4 separate regions of the Homo sapiens genome follow, and all the other regions are linked to region 1. The links are contacts of gene promoters, found by promoter capture Hi-C in blood cells and fetal thymus (Javierre and others, 2016). All regions are on one chromosome and are shown on one strand. Each heading gives the region's core, a stretch centred on a gene start or on the middle of the fragment in contact. The rest is flanking DNA. Distances are from core to core; before and after follow the strand shown.

Region 1 (3,304 bases), core at 805-3,304:
TCTTTTAGTATGTTTCAGTCAATGCTTAGTGGGGCCGTCTCTTGGGGGCGATGAGTTGGTTCATTTCTCTGCAGCACAAGGACTGGACTTCATCCCCTTTGGGCAGTGACGCAGTGGGTGAAGGCATGTACTGGAATGAGTGTCACAGGGTCTCTGAGGAGGGTGACCAAAGGGACAGGTCTTGAAAGCGGTGTGCAACAGCAGGGCCTGGGAGTGACCAAACCCGCTGGCACCAGCTACTCCCGGGAAGGATCTGGACAGGCCCCATTCTCCCAGCTTGGAGAGGGTGAGGCAGGATTGCAATTGCAGGGCAAGATCCAGGAACAGATGCAGAGACCTTTAAAACAGGCGCACCTTCTATGGAAATCCCCAAAAGACATTCAAGGTTAGCCTGTAAAAACATTTAGGTCTGACATTACGTTTTCTGTGCCATTTTCGAACAGGTTTTTTCATGTGTTTTAAGCAGCTCCCTCCACTGTTTCTCTAAGGGTGTTTTTCCTCTTCCTTGTGGTTAATCCTTTGAAGCAACCTGGTATTTTCAATAGCAACGACTAGAGAGAAACGTCAGCATGATTTTTTTTTTCTCTCCACCTACCAATCCAGTTGTAGGAAAGATAATATAATTAGTACCCTGTTCTTCCCACACTTAACCAGCTCATTCCAGTCTCAAGGGAGAGTTGTGGGCCTGTGTTCCCAACAAAAGCAGCTCCAGAGGCCGCCCTTAAAGAGCTTAAGTGTAAAAGTCCCAATTGAAGAGCGACTAAGCCTACGTGTATTAGGGAGACTAACGACCAGCCCAAAGTGATTTACCATAACACACACTAGCTCCTCCTCCCGATAAAAGTGCGAAACTCAAACATTCAATTCAGTCTGGGCTGAGTCTGAGGCTGCCAACGGTGGCAGACCTGCAGGCCGGGCTCATCCCGGCCTGGGTGGCATATAGGGCAAAAGTCCGCCTCCGTCGGCGGCCCGCCCTGCGGGACGGCGGGCCAGCCAGCCAGCCGGTCGCCCCCACGGCCCTCGGGAACCTCGCGGAGGCGAGCAGGACCCCCCCCCCCCCCACTCGCGCCCTCGCCTCCCGCCACCTCGAGTCCAAGTTCGGGCCCGGGGGCGGCGCCTCGACGCCCAGACTCGCCGAAGGGGGTGGAGCCTGCGCTGTGACGCGGCCGCGCTGGCCGTAGACCCCGGATCCCTGGAATGTGCATTCGTTCCACGAGGCCCTAGTGCCAGCGGCGCCGAGGCACGTCTGCGCGGAGCGTGCGCACTCGCGGCGGCGGCCGCCCACGGCCCCGCGCCCACGTCACGCGCCCGCCGCGCATACCTACATAAGGCAGCCGGGGCGACTGGCGCGGCGAGGCCCCCGATGAACAGGGCGGGCTGGACGGGGCTAAGAGCGGCACTTGGTGTTCGGGAGAGGCTAGTCCGAACCGCGCTCCCTCCCCTCCAGAGGGCTCCGTGGAAAACGCGCGAGCCAGCTGGCGGCGTGTGCACGTGGTGCTGGGCTTGGGAATATTCACAGTCTCCCTAGTTAGTAAAAGGGACAGGCGGGGCGTATGTCCTTTCCAAGACAAATGCAAAGCACCAGTGACGGATTTCATGCTATGTGTCCGACATTGAGCTTTCAAGTATAACTCCTAAAAAACCAGAACTGTGAACCACGCTAGACCTAAATTCCCCATTCTCAGGAGACTGACGGAAACCAAGTGACAAAGTGTCCTTGCATAAAAGAAAAAAAATGATTTTTAGCACGATTTGGCCCAGAGGCACACCAGAGGAAAACATCCTGAGGGTGGTCGGGACAGCCGGGTGGGGCGCGAAGTGAGGGAAAGTGGAGGAAAAGCACTCGATCACTTTGCGCGGTGTTCCGAAGGGAACACCGGCGCTGCGCTGCTGCGCTGCCCCGCGGGCGGGCGGGCGCCGCGTAGCCGGCTCTCCCGGCAGCGCTCCTTCGGCGCGCGGGGGGAGGGGGAGCGCGCGCGCGGGAGGGCGGGCACGCGCACGAGGGGAGGGGGCCCGCGCAGGCGCCGTGCGAGACTGTCGAAGAATCAAGTCTGTAGAAGTGGAGCGGTCGCGGCGGCAGCAGCAGCAGCGACGGTGGCGGCGGCGGAGCTGAGGCGGGCTGGCCGCTGACGCTGGCGCTGGAGAGCGGCGACGCCAGGAGCTGTGAGAGAGCGGCGGAGCGACCCGGGGCCCGCGCCGCGCCCGAGCTCCACGCCGCCCGGCCGCCGCCACCCCGGCGCGGCATGCCCCGCCGCTCGGGCTGAGCCTGCCCCGGCGGCCGCCCCCCGCCCCCTGCCCCCCCGGCCTCCCCGCCCCCCGCCCCGCACTCCGTGCCGGCCGCCGCCGCGACCTGCTGCGCTCCCCCGCGCCCGCGCGGCCCGTCTTCGCCCCGGTCTGGAGGCCCGCCGCGGCTCCGGCCGAGCCCCCACCGCCGCGCCCGCCGCCCCGCCGCGCCGCGCCGCCCGCCCGTGCCCGGGCCGGCCGGGGGGAACTGCTGCCGCGGCTGCAGCCCCTCACCTCGCGCCCGCCGCCCCTCGTGCACCGGGGGCGCTGCGCGGGCGCCGAGCCTTCGCGGGCTTTGCCGCCGCCGCCGCCGCCTTTGCGGCCGCCGCCGCCGCTGGTGGGGGAGACGCGGGGTTGGGGGGGGAGGAGGGCGCGCGTGGTGCCGGTGGGGGGCGGCGGCGGCGCCCCCTCCTCCTCCTCCGCCTCCTCCTCCGGCGTCGCGGGCTCCTCGGACATGGCCGCGGCGGTGGCGGTGGCGGCCGCGTCCCGGCGGCAGTCGTGCTACCTGTGTGACCTGCCCCGCATGCCCTGGGCCATGATCTGGGACTTCACCGAACCCGTCTGCCGCGGCTGCGTCAACTACGAGGGCGCCGACCGCGTCGAGTTCGTCATCGAGACGGCGCGGCAGCTCAAGCGGGCGCACGGCTGCTTCCCGGAGGGTCGCTCCCCACCCGGCGCCGCGGCCTCGGCCGCCGCCAAGCCGCCGCCGCTCTCCGCCAAGGACATCCTTTTGCAGCAGCAGCAGCAGCTTGGCCACGGCGGCCCCGAGGCGGCCCCGCGCGCGCCGCAGGCCTTGGAGCGCTACCCGTTGGCGGCCGCGGCCGAGAGGCCCCCGCGCCTCGGCTCTGACTTCGGCAGCAGCCGCCCGGCAGCGAGCCTGGCCCAGCCGCCGACGCCGCAGCCGCCGCCCGTGAACGGCATCCTGGTGCCCAACGGCTTCTCCAAGCTAGAGGAGCCGCCCGAGCTGAATCGCCAGAGCCCGAACCCGCGGCGCGGCCACGCGGTGCCGCCCACCCTGGTG
Region 2 (3,304 bases), core at 332-2,831, 730 kb before region 1:
TAAATGAATGCATGGTAATAACATCCTAATTTTAGATAAGGTTTCAGGAAAATGGTTACATAAAAAGTTAAAACTAAAATACTGTTTTCTTTTTTTTTTTTTGGAGATGGAATTTCGCTCTTGTCACCCAGGCTAGAGTGCAATGGTGTGATCTCGGCTCACTGCAACCTCCGCCCCCTGGGTTCAAGCGATTCTCCTGCCTCAGCCTCCCAAGTAGCTGGGATTACAGGCACCTGCCACCACACCTGGCTAATTTTTGTAATTTTAGTAGAGACAGGGTTTCACTATGTTGGCCAGGCTGGTGTCAAACTCCTGACCTCAGGTAATTCACCTGTGTTGGCCTCCCAAAATGCTGGGATTATGGGTTTTTTTGTTTGTTTGTTTGTTTGTGGAGATGAAGTTTTGCTCTGTCACCTAGGCTGGAAAGCAATGGCACGATCTTGGCTCGGCTCACCACAACCTTCGCCTCCTGGGTTCAAGGGATTCTCCTGTCTCAGCCTCCCGAGTAGCTGGGATTACAGGTGTGCGTCACTACGCCTAGCTAATTTTTTGTATTTTTTTTCTGAGATCGAGTTTTGCTCTTGTTGCCCAGGCTGGGGTACAGTGTCACGATCTTGGCTCACTGCAACCTCCACCTCCTAGGTTCAAGCGATTCTCCTGCCTCAGCCTCCTGAGTAGCTGGGATTACAGTCGTGCGCCACTAAATCCAGCTAATTTTTTGTATTTTTAGTAGAGACGGTTTCATCATGTTGGCCAGGCTGGTCTTGAATTCCTGACCTCAGGTGATCCACCCACCTCAGCCTCCCAAAGTGTAGGGATTACATGCGTGAGCTACCGCGCCCGGCCAATTTTTTGTACTTTTAATAGAGACAGGGTTTCCCCATGTTGGCCAGGCTGGTCTCGAACTCCTGACCTCAAGTCGTCCACATGCTTTGGCCTCTCGAAGTGCTGGGATTACAGGTGTGACCCACCACGCCCGGCCTATTATTATTATTTTTGAGACAGGGTCTCGCTCTGTCACCCAGGCTGGAGTGCAGTGGCACAATCACGGCCTACTGCAGCCTTGACCTCCTAGGCTCAAGTCCCCTGAGTAGCTGGGACTACAAGAACAAGCCACCATGCCTGGCTAATTTTATTTTTATTTATTTATTTTTTGTAGAGGCAGGGTTTCGCCCTGTTGCCCAGGCTGGTCTCAAACCCCTGGGCTCAAAAGCAATCTGTCCCACTTGGCCTCCCAAAGTGCTGGGATAATAAGTCAGCCACTGCACTTGGCCTGTATCACTTAAACACATTTTTTTGAAGATGAAAAACAGAGTCTCAATGTGAAATTTCATTTTTCATTTTACTTTTGAATGTTATATAGAAAACAGTACAATATATGGCTTATTTTTGAGGTACTACAGTTTTAATATTTTTTTCCCCTCTGATGACATGCTAGTGTTTAGCCTGATGCTTTTAAGTTTCCCCCCCTTTTTTTTTTCTGAGACGGGGTCTCCCTTAATCACCCAGGCTGGGGTGCAGTGGTGTGATCTTGGCTTACTGCAGCCTCAACCTCCCAGGCTCCGGTAATCATCCCACCTCAGTCCCCCAGGTAAGCTGGGACTACAAGGGCGTATCACATGCCTGGCTAATTTTTTGTATTTTTAGTAGAGACAGGGTTTTGCCATGTTGCCCAGGCTGGTCTTGAACTCCTGGGCTTAAGCCATCTGCCCACTTCGGTCTCCCAAAGTGCTGGGAGTACAGATGTGAGCCACCGCGCCTGGCTGAGTTCCAAAATAATTTCTAGTACTGAGGCTAATCACAGAGATCTCTCAAAATTAAAAGATTACTGCTTCCTCTTTAAGATCTAAACATTATTGTCTCTCTTTTTGGAGCCCTTCTTCCTCCACTGCCAGCTTCATCTCTCCCTAATCCCACCCTTCACCTCATCTAGGGCCCCACACTAAGGCAAATAAACAAACATAAACATAAGATGACAGCAAGTATGAGAAATTTAAAAATAAAAATAATTTTCTTTACTAATTTCAGAAAATCCTTTTTTTTTTTTGAGACAGTGTCTCACTCTGTTGCCCAGGCTGGAGTGCAGTGGCGTGATCTCGGCTCACTGCAACCTCTGCCTCCTAGGCTCCTGTGACTCCCGTGCCTCAGCTGGGACTACAGGCATGCGCTACCATACTTGGCTAATATTTGTATTTTTAGTAGATACAGGGTTTCACCATGTTGGCCAGGTTGACTTCAGAAAATACTGATAGCATTATTATTATTTATTAGCAAGAGTAATATTACAACAGTATAAATGACCTGGCACACCTCTAAGTTACTTTAGTAACTCTGAAGCTCTCTGTAAAAAAATAAGTGTGTTATGTGCATAGTGCAATGTCATATTTCTTTAGTAGTATCTTTTGAGGTTGTATTCCATCATGGATCAAGAACGTACTTGAATAAAAAGGTGAGGTACCTAGTGATAATTTTAAATATGTTATCTAATGTCTTAAAACATTATTTCCAAGTAATGAGAATTAAAAAAAAGGAAGTCACAGAAGGTGGTCACAGCATAAGTAAGCATTATGGTTAAAATGTAACTGTAGGCAGTCCTTGCTTTGTAAGTAGCAGAGTAAGAGACATTCAAGCGATGCTTGTTAGACTTTTGTCAGCACTGATAACTGGCTTGCTATTAATGCCAGCCCAGTTCCAGCTAGTGTTTGTGAGCGTGTTCTAAAGGATGTCTGGCAGTAAGAGCTGGGTAGAGTGAAAGTGAAACTGTGCCATGTTTCTCACTGGGAGATACTGAAATAAGTTACTAACTGCTGGATAAATGTCACTCAAAAGCAGTCTCTTGGCTTTTTCTTAAACAGTGGGCAACCTTCCCTTTGAATTCTCCATTTCTGTCATTCCCTCATTCTTCTCATGCATTGACATTAGCAGGCGAGTCTCTATTAGGGTCGGCCAAAATAAAAATGACACTAATTATGGTTTCCAAGGTGTAGCACAGGAGCAAGCATTCTTTTGGCTTTTATCCTTCCCAGGCTCATGAAGAACAGAAATGCACATATTACCACAGAGAAGTGCTCATAAAGAAAGGTGTGTACTTTAGCACGGAAATTTAAAAGTGTCTATTGAGACTGAATTGAGAGCATCATTAGAGTTTAGTCACAGTATGGCTAAATAGGTTTTTATGCTTGTCAAATAATTTACCAACTTTTATATTATTTCTTCTTTTTTAAAAAATGTTTAAAACAGAGAGGGGGACTTGTTATGTTGCCCAAGGTGGTCTCAAACTTTTGGTCTCAAGCAATCCTGCCTT
Region 3 (3,304 bases), core at 424-2,923, 700 kb before region 1:
CCTGTCTTGTTTTTTTTTAAATAAGCTGATAGAGTGAGGATTCTTTTAATCAAGACTGTTTGGGATTGAATTGCCACTCCTGCTTACCAGAGTGTAGGCAGTTTTTCTTAAACTTTCCAAGAAGACTGGTGTCCTCATCTAAAATACGAAATGCTTACAGTAATTGCCTCATGGGGTTGTTTGGGGTGACTAAATGTAGTAGGATTTACTACATAGTAAGTTCTCAATACATTGTAGCTATTATTATTAGTTCGGTAGAAAGAATGTGCAGATTCTTATGAGTTTAAGTAGGCTTTCGGGGAGATAGATTGACTCTGGTCTTTTAAAAGTTAATTTTGAAGTTGCAGTTTTGTGATTAAGCCTTAAATCTGTTATTCTTTCCTTCTGAAATCCTTAAAAACAGAATGTTTAGTAGAAGGTGATAACCAGATTTCTTTATTCCAAGAACTCTTTGCTCTCATGTCTAACCTTTATTTTCCTGGTACTTACTGATGCAGAAGCTTCTCTTAGTAAATATAATACATCTCCTCTCTCCTAATTTGCTCCCGTCTTTCCTTGTAAGGGAAAAGTAAATTTTACTTCCAAGCCTAGAGGGTTATTTATGGATTAGGTGAACTACTGAAGATACTTATTTTCTGGATAAGCATCCATCTGTATAGCCTTTTATGTATGGCAAAAATTGTTTTCATTTCTTGATCAGAATACTGTTCTGATGTGGTGTAGTCAGCCACCTGAAGCTGATCTAGCATGGGCAGCCTAGGCAGGTAGGGCGAATGACTGTAGGAGCCCTGCTAAACCCGAGTCTCTACTCCAGAGAGGAGTTAAAAAAAGCTGAACAAGCCTGAACACGGAGGAGCCACTATTGCTGTCAAAGTTAAGTGAAGCAGCTTGGCTTATGTCTATTTCAGAATAAAAAAAAAAAATTCAACTTAGGCATGCACGGTGGGTCATGCCCGTAATCCTAGCACTTTGGGCGTTTGAGGCTGGCAGATTACTTGAGGTCAGGAGTTTGAGACCAGCCTGGCCAACATGGTGAAACCTTGTCTCTACTGAAAATATAAAAATTAGCCAGGCATGGTGGTATGCCTGTTTGGGAGGCTGATGCAGGAGAATCTCTTGAACCCGGGAAGTGGAAATTGCAGTAAGCTGAGATCGCACCACTGCACTCCAGCCTAGGTGATAGAATGAGACTGCATCTCAAAAATTCAACTTTTCACATTTTCAGTTTTATCTTGATAAGGATACCTCATCAAAGAACCCTTTTCTTTTCTTTTCTTTTCTTTTTCTTGAAGCAGAATCTTGCTGTGCATCCCAGGCTGGAGTGCAGTGGTGCAATCTTGGCTCAGTGCAACCTCCGCCTCCTAGGTTCAAACGATTCTTGTGCCTCAGCCTCCTGAGTAGCTAGGACTACAGGCATGCGCCACCATGCTCGGCTAATTTTTTGTATTTTAGTAGAGATGGGGTTTTGTAATGTTACCTAGGGTGGTCTCAAACTCCCGAGCTCAGGTGATCGCCTGCCTTGGCTTCTCAAAGTGCTAGGATTACAGGTGGGAGCCACCACGCCCAGCCCCATTTCTGTTTTTTTTAATCTGAATATTCTTTGCTAAAGTGTTGTTGTTTTTTTTAAAGGCAAGCCAGAGAGCTTTTGGCATTTAGTAAGTCACCTATTCGTGCTTTGCTCTAACTTGGAGAAATATTTTTCTAAACTAGTTCTTCTAGCAAAATTAAAGAAATTTTTATTATGAAAGCAATAAAGATTTTCTGTAAACATTAAAAATTACATAGTAGTATTCAGTGGACAGTAGAAGTCTTACTTCCTGGTAACTTGATTCAACAGTTTTTGGGTGTATTCTTCCACACCTTTTTCTTTGCACATATGAATCAAACATGAGTATTTATTTTGTTATGTTTGACTGTATTGAAATGGGCTTATGCTATGCATATTGTTCGTAATTTTCTTTTCTTTTCTTTTCTTTGAGACGGACTGTCGCTCTGTCACCAGACTAGAGTGTGGTGGCACGATCTTGGCTAACTGCAACCTCTGCCTCCCGGGTTCAAGCAGTTCTCCTGCCTCAGCCTCCTGAGTAGCTGGAACTACAGGTGCGCGCCACCACGCCCAGCTAATTTTTGTATTTTTAGTAGACAGGGTTTCACCATGTTGGCCAGGCTGGTCTTGATCTCTTGAGCTCGTGATTTGCCTGCCTCGGCCTCCCAAAGTGCTGGGATTACAGACGTGAGCCACCATGCCTGGCCCATAATTTTCTTTTACATTCTTCTATATCAGTACATATTACACAAGTCTGTGTCATTCTTCTTGATGGCTTTAGTAAGATTTTATTTGCATTCAACATGTTATTTTTTCTACAACCAAATAATTTATATAGGGCACCGGTATGTTTCTTTAAGTTTTGCAGGTATGTAGCAGTGCTTAGTATTCAGTAGGTACTGTTTTTGTTTGTTTGTTTGTTTGTTTTGTTTTTTGTTTTTGAGACAGGGTCTTGCTCTGTTGCCCAGGCTGGAGTGCAGTGGCACAGTCTTGGCTCACTGCAACCTCTGCCTCCCGGGTTCAAGAGATTCTCATGTTTCTGCCTCCCAAGTAGCTGGGACTACAGTCCCGTGCCATCACACCCAGCTAATTTTTGTATTTTTATTAGAGACAGGGTTTTGCCACGTTGGCCAGGCTGGTCTCAAACTCCTGACCTCAAGTGATCTGCCTGCCTCGACCTCCCAAAGTACAGGTGTGAGCCACTGTGCCTGGCCTTCAGTAAGTATTGTTAACTTATTTGGATGCCTAGTACTAGTAGGTGGCAAATAGTCCCAGTACCTATTATATATACAAAGCTTCTTATAGTCCTATGAATTATTATTATTATTATTATTATTATTATTATTATTATTATTATTGTTTTGAGACAGGGTCTTGCTCTGTCACCCAGGCTGGAGTGCACAGTACAATCACGGCTCACTGTAGCCTTGACCTTCTGGGCTCAAGCGATCCTCCCACCTCAGCCTCTCGAGTAGTTGGGACTACAGGTGTGGGTCACCATAGGTTGATTTTTTATATTTTCTAGAGATGGGGTCTCACTATGTTGCCTAGGCTGGTCTTGAACTCTTGCCCTGTGAATTATTGCAGCCACCAACTGTTAAATATCATTGCATGACATTGTTACTAAAAGGTAATCTATGAGGATTAGTGAGGGAGCATCCCTGTGCTATATGGCTGGTTCTAAAAAAGCTTATGCTGTTCTTTGGGATCCCTGTTAGCATTGATTAGACAGGTTAATTTTGGGGGCCGGGTGCGGTG
Region 4 (3,304 bases), core at 474-2,973, 550 kb before region 1:
TACTGAGTATGTTATAGAAACAGTGCTGAATAGGGGAATTATTCCAAATTTTGGTGGAGTCGAGATTTATGACTTTGTGCCTCTCTGTCTCGCCTGCCTTCTTGTTCTACGTCCTACCTTCTTAAGAGGGTTTGAGGATTTTATTGAATTAGTAGAATTGACCTATGTCTACTTCTGGTCACCTAAACTAGACTTTACTAAGTTAGTTTACAATTGACATATTAAGATGGTATGTTTTTCTTTTCTTTTTTTTCTTTTTTTGAGACGGAGTCTCACTCTGTTGCCCCAGGCTGGAGTGCAGTGGTGCAATCTTGGCTCACTGCAACTTCTGCCTCCCAGGTTCAAGTGATCCTCCTACTTCAGCCTCCCGAGTAGCTGGGACTACAGGCACGTGCCACTGCACCCAGCTAATTTTTTGTATTTTTAGTAGAGAGGGGTGTTTCACCGTGTTAGTCAGGATGGTCTCGATCTCCTGACCTCGTAATCTGCCCGCCTTGACCTCACAAAGTGTTGGGATTACAGGCATGAGCCACCGCGCCCACCCAAGATGATACGTTTCTTAACGGTGTTCTCCAAAACGTTTTTTTTCCTACTGAAAAAACTTTAGAGTGGGGTCTTGTTAATTTCTTTTTTTTGTTTGTTTTGTTTTGTTTTAGACAGAATCTCGCTCTGTCGCCCAGGCTGGAGTATAATGGCGCCATCTTGGCTCACTGCAACCTCTGCCTCCCGGGTTCAAGTGGTTCTCCTGCATCAGCCTCCCGACTAGCTGGGATTACAGGCGCCCGCCACCATGCCTAGCTAATTTTTGTATTTTTAGTAGAGATGGGGTTTCACCATGTTGGCCAGGCTGATCTCAAACTTCTGACCTCAGATGATCCACCCACCTCGGCCTCCCAAAGCGCTGGGATTACAGGCGTAAGCCACCGCACCCGGCCTCCTTTTGTTTTTTTGAGACGGAGTTTCGCTCTTGTTGCCCAGGCTGGAGTGCAAATGGCGCAGTCGCTGATCTGAAACTCCTGGGCTTGCATTCCTTCCGTCTTGGTCTCCCAAAGTGCTGGGATTATAGGCGTGAGCCACCTTGTCCCACCATGTCCTCATATTTTAAAAAACTCTCAAAGCAGTAAGTGATCTCTAAATGGTTAAAAACAGCACTGAACAGCAATGAAGATAATTTTAAAACTATCTGCAACCACAGCTGCTTTCGCAGTCTGTTTTCTTCTATAAGTATCTGCTACCTAGCTGGGCACAGTGGGTCATACCTGTAATCCCAGCACGTTGGGAGGTCAAGGCGAGCGGATCACCTGAGGTCAGGAGTTCGAGACCAGCCCGACCAACATGGAGAAACCCTGTCTCTATTAAAAATATAAAATTAGCCAGGCATGGTGGTGCATGCCTGTAATCCCAACTACTCGGGAGGCTGAGGCAGGAGAATCGCTTGAACCTGGGAGGCGGAGGTTGCAATGAGCCAAGATCGTGCCACTGCACTCCAGCCTGGGCAACAAGAGTGAAACTCCGTCTCAAAAAATACACAGAATAGAATTCTATAATTCTAGAAATATAGAATATAATTTCTTCACTGGACTGGATAGAACAGATTTTTGAGTTGTATCGCATGCATGTATGGATAAGCTTTCTTCATCTTTGTGAAATACCAGAAGATCAAGATTATGGGAAACCAAAATAAGGGGCCCAGTAATCAAAACCCAGGGCCGAGCAGTTGAATATTGTGGATTTTTTTCATAAATTTCTCTGAAGGGGGAAGTAAAAGTCACATATATTCCCAGTCAACTTGGTTGAGTAGCTTTCAAAAAGCTTAGGCTGTCCCCAAAAGACTCAAAGTCAAATCCTGGCTGGATGCAGTGGCTCACGCCTGTAATTCCAACCCTTTGGGAGGCCAAGGCAGGAGGACTGCTCAAGCTCAGGAGTTCAAGACCGGCCTGGGAAACACAGTGAAACCCCAATCTCTATTTAAAAAAAAAAAAAAAAAAAAAGGCCAGGCGCGGTGGCTCACACCTGTACTCCCAGCACTTTGGGAGGCTGAGGTGGGCGGATCACAAGGTCAGGGGTTCGAGACCAGCCTGGCTAACATGGTGAAACCCGGTCTCTACTAAAAAAATACAAAAATTAGCTGGGCATGGTGGCATGCACCTGTAATCCCAGCTACTTGGGAGGCTGAGGCAGGAGACTCACTTGAACCCGGGAGGCGGAGGTTGCAGTGAGCTGAGATCGCGCCACTGCAGTCCAGCCTGGGCGACAGAGCGAGACTCTGTCTCCAAAAAAAAAAAAAAAATTAGCTGGGCATGGTGCTGCTGCTTGCAGTTCCAGCTACTCCGTGGTGGGAGGATGGCTTGAGCCCAGGAAGTCAAGGCTGCAGTGCGCCGTGATCTCACCACTACACTCCAGTCTGGGTGACAGAGCAACACCTTGTCTGAAAGAAAATAAGAACAAAGTCAAATCCTATTTTGCCACTCAAACTATTGGATGATTTAACTAGTAATCTTTTATTACCCTGAGAGTCAATTTAACAAATATTCACTATGTACAGCTAATAGAGACACAGCATACATGATGAATAAAACATAATCCTTACTGTCTTGCCTTTACATCTAAAGAGACTGTAACTAACACTAAAGCAGACCAAAAATGATTATAGTAAGTACCATGGGGGCTTGGGAAAATATCCCTATTGTAAATAGCAAAGAATTTTTTTTTTTTTTTTTTTGAGCCAGGGTCTGCCGCTTAGGCTGGAGTGTAGTGATGCGATCACAGCTTACTGCAGCCTCGACCTTCCAGGGCTCAAGGGATCCTCTTGCCCGAGCCTCTCAAAGTGCTGGGACTACAGGCGCCGAGCGCGAAGGTGCCCGTCTAATTTCTTTTCTGTAGAGAATAAGTCTCGCTAGATCGACCAGGCTGGTTCAAACTCCTAGTCCTCACGCAATCCTCCCACTTCGGCCTCCAAATGTGTTAGGATTACAGGCGAGCCACCGCACCTGGCTGCAAAGAAATACTAAGTTAGACAGTATCTGAGGTAGGCCTTGAAGGATGGACATTATTTTGCAGAAGGGGAAAGAGGAGGGCAATTACAACAGAGGGGACAGGAATAACAACTGTAGAGGCAGTGGAGAAAGCAGGCTAGAATGTCAGGGGCTGGAGGGAGATGAGTCTGGGAAGACGGGCTGAGAACACCTTGAAGCGTTTTGAATGCCAAGTATCTACTTTTCCAGGTAGAATAGCAGGTCCGCATTACAATCTTTCGAATTGTATGTTGACGTGACTCGTTAGAGTTGTGGTTTTTATTTTGGAA

The links. The method cuts DNA at HindIII sites, captures the fragments that hold promoters and counts their contacts. A CHiCAGO score of 5 or more calls a contact.
Region 2: a contact is called between a fragment that was not itself captured here and the fragment with the promoter of IRF2BP2 in region 1, in 1 of 17 cell types (fetal thymus). The highest score is 5.1, in fetal thymus.
Region 3: a fragment that was not itself captured here is called in contact with the fragment with the promoter of IRF2BP2 in region 1 in 1 of 17 cell types (activated CD4 T cells); the score reaches 6.0 in activated CD4 T cells.
Region 4: a contact is called between a fragment that was not itself captured here and the fragment with the promoter of IRF2BP2 in region 1, in 9 of 17 cell types (naive CD4 T cells, fetal thymus, activated CD4 T cells and 6 more). The highest score is 9.5, in naive CD4 T cells.

The regions. Positions count from the first base shown.
Region 1 is chr1:234,608,928-234,612,231 of GRCh38, reverse strand. IRF2BP2 (interferon regulatory factor 2 binding protein 2) reads left to right here and starts at 2,054. Exons shown (of 2, transcript NM_182972.3): 1 at 2,054-3,304. The coding sequence starts at 2,738. RefSeq lists silencers at 830-1,429, 1,910-2,099, 2,160-2,259, 2,640-2,719, 2,960-3,239 and enhancers at 1,680-1,779, 1,882-2,579. The HindIII fragment of the contact is 9,061 bases long and covers 1-3,304 here.
Region 2 is chr1:235,336,560-235,339,863 of GRCh38, reverse strand. The region is part of intron 2 of GGPS1 (geranylgeranyl diphosphate synthase 1); the gene reads right to left. Among named protein-coding and RNA genes, the nearest start is that of GGPS1, 9.6 kb to the right of the region's middle. The HindIII fragment of the contact is 7,848 bases long and covers 1-3,304 here.
Region 3 is chr1:235,310,957-235,314,260 of GRCh38, reverse strand. All of the region lies in intron 2 of ARID4B (AT-rich interaction domain 4B), which reads left to right. Among named protein-coding and RNA genes, the nearest start is that of ARID4B, 16 kb to the left of the region's middle. The HindIII fragment of the contact is 2,341 bases long and covers 503-2,843 here.
Region 4 is chr1:235,161,677-235,164,980 of GRCh38, reverse strand. No RefSeq gene overlaps it. Among named protein-coding and RNA genes, the nearest start is that of RBM34, 2.1 kb to the right of the region's middle. RefSeq lists an enhancer at 3,278-3,304. The HindIII fragment of the contact is 183 bases long and covers 1,632-1,814 here.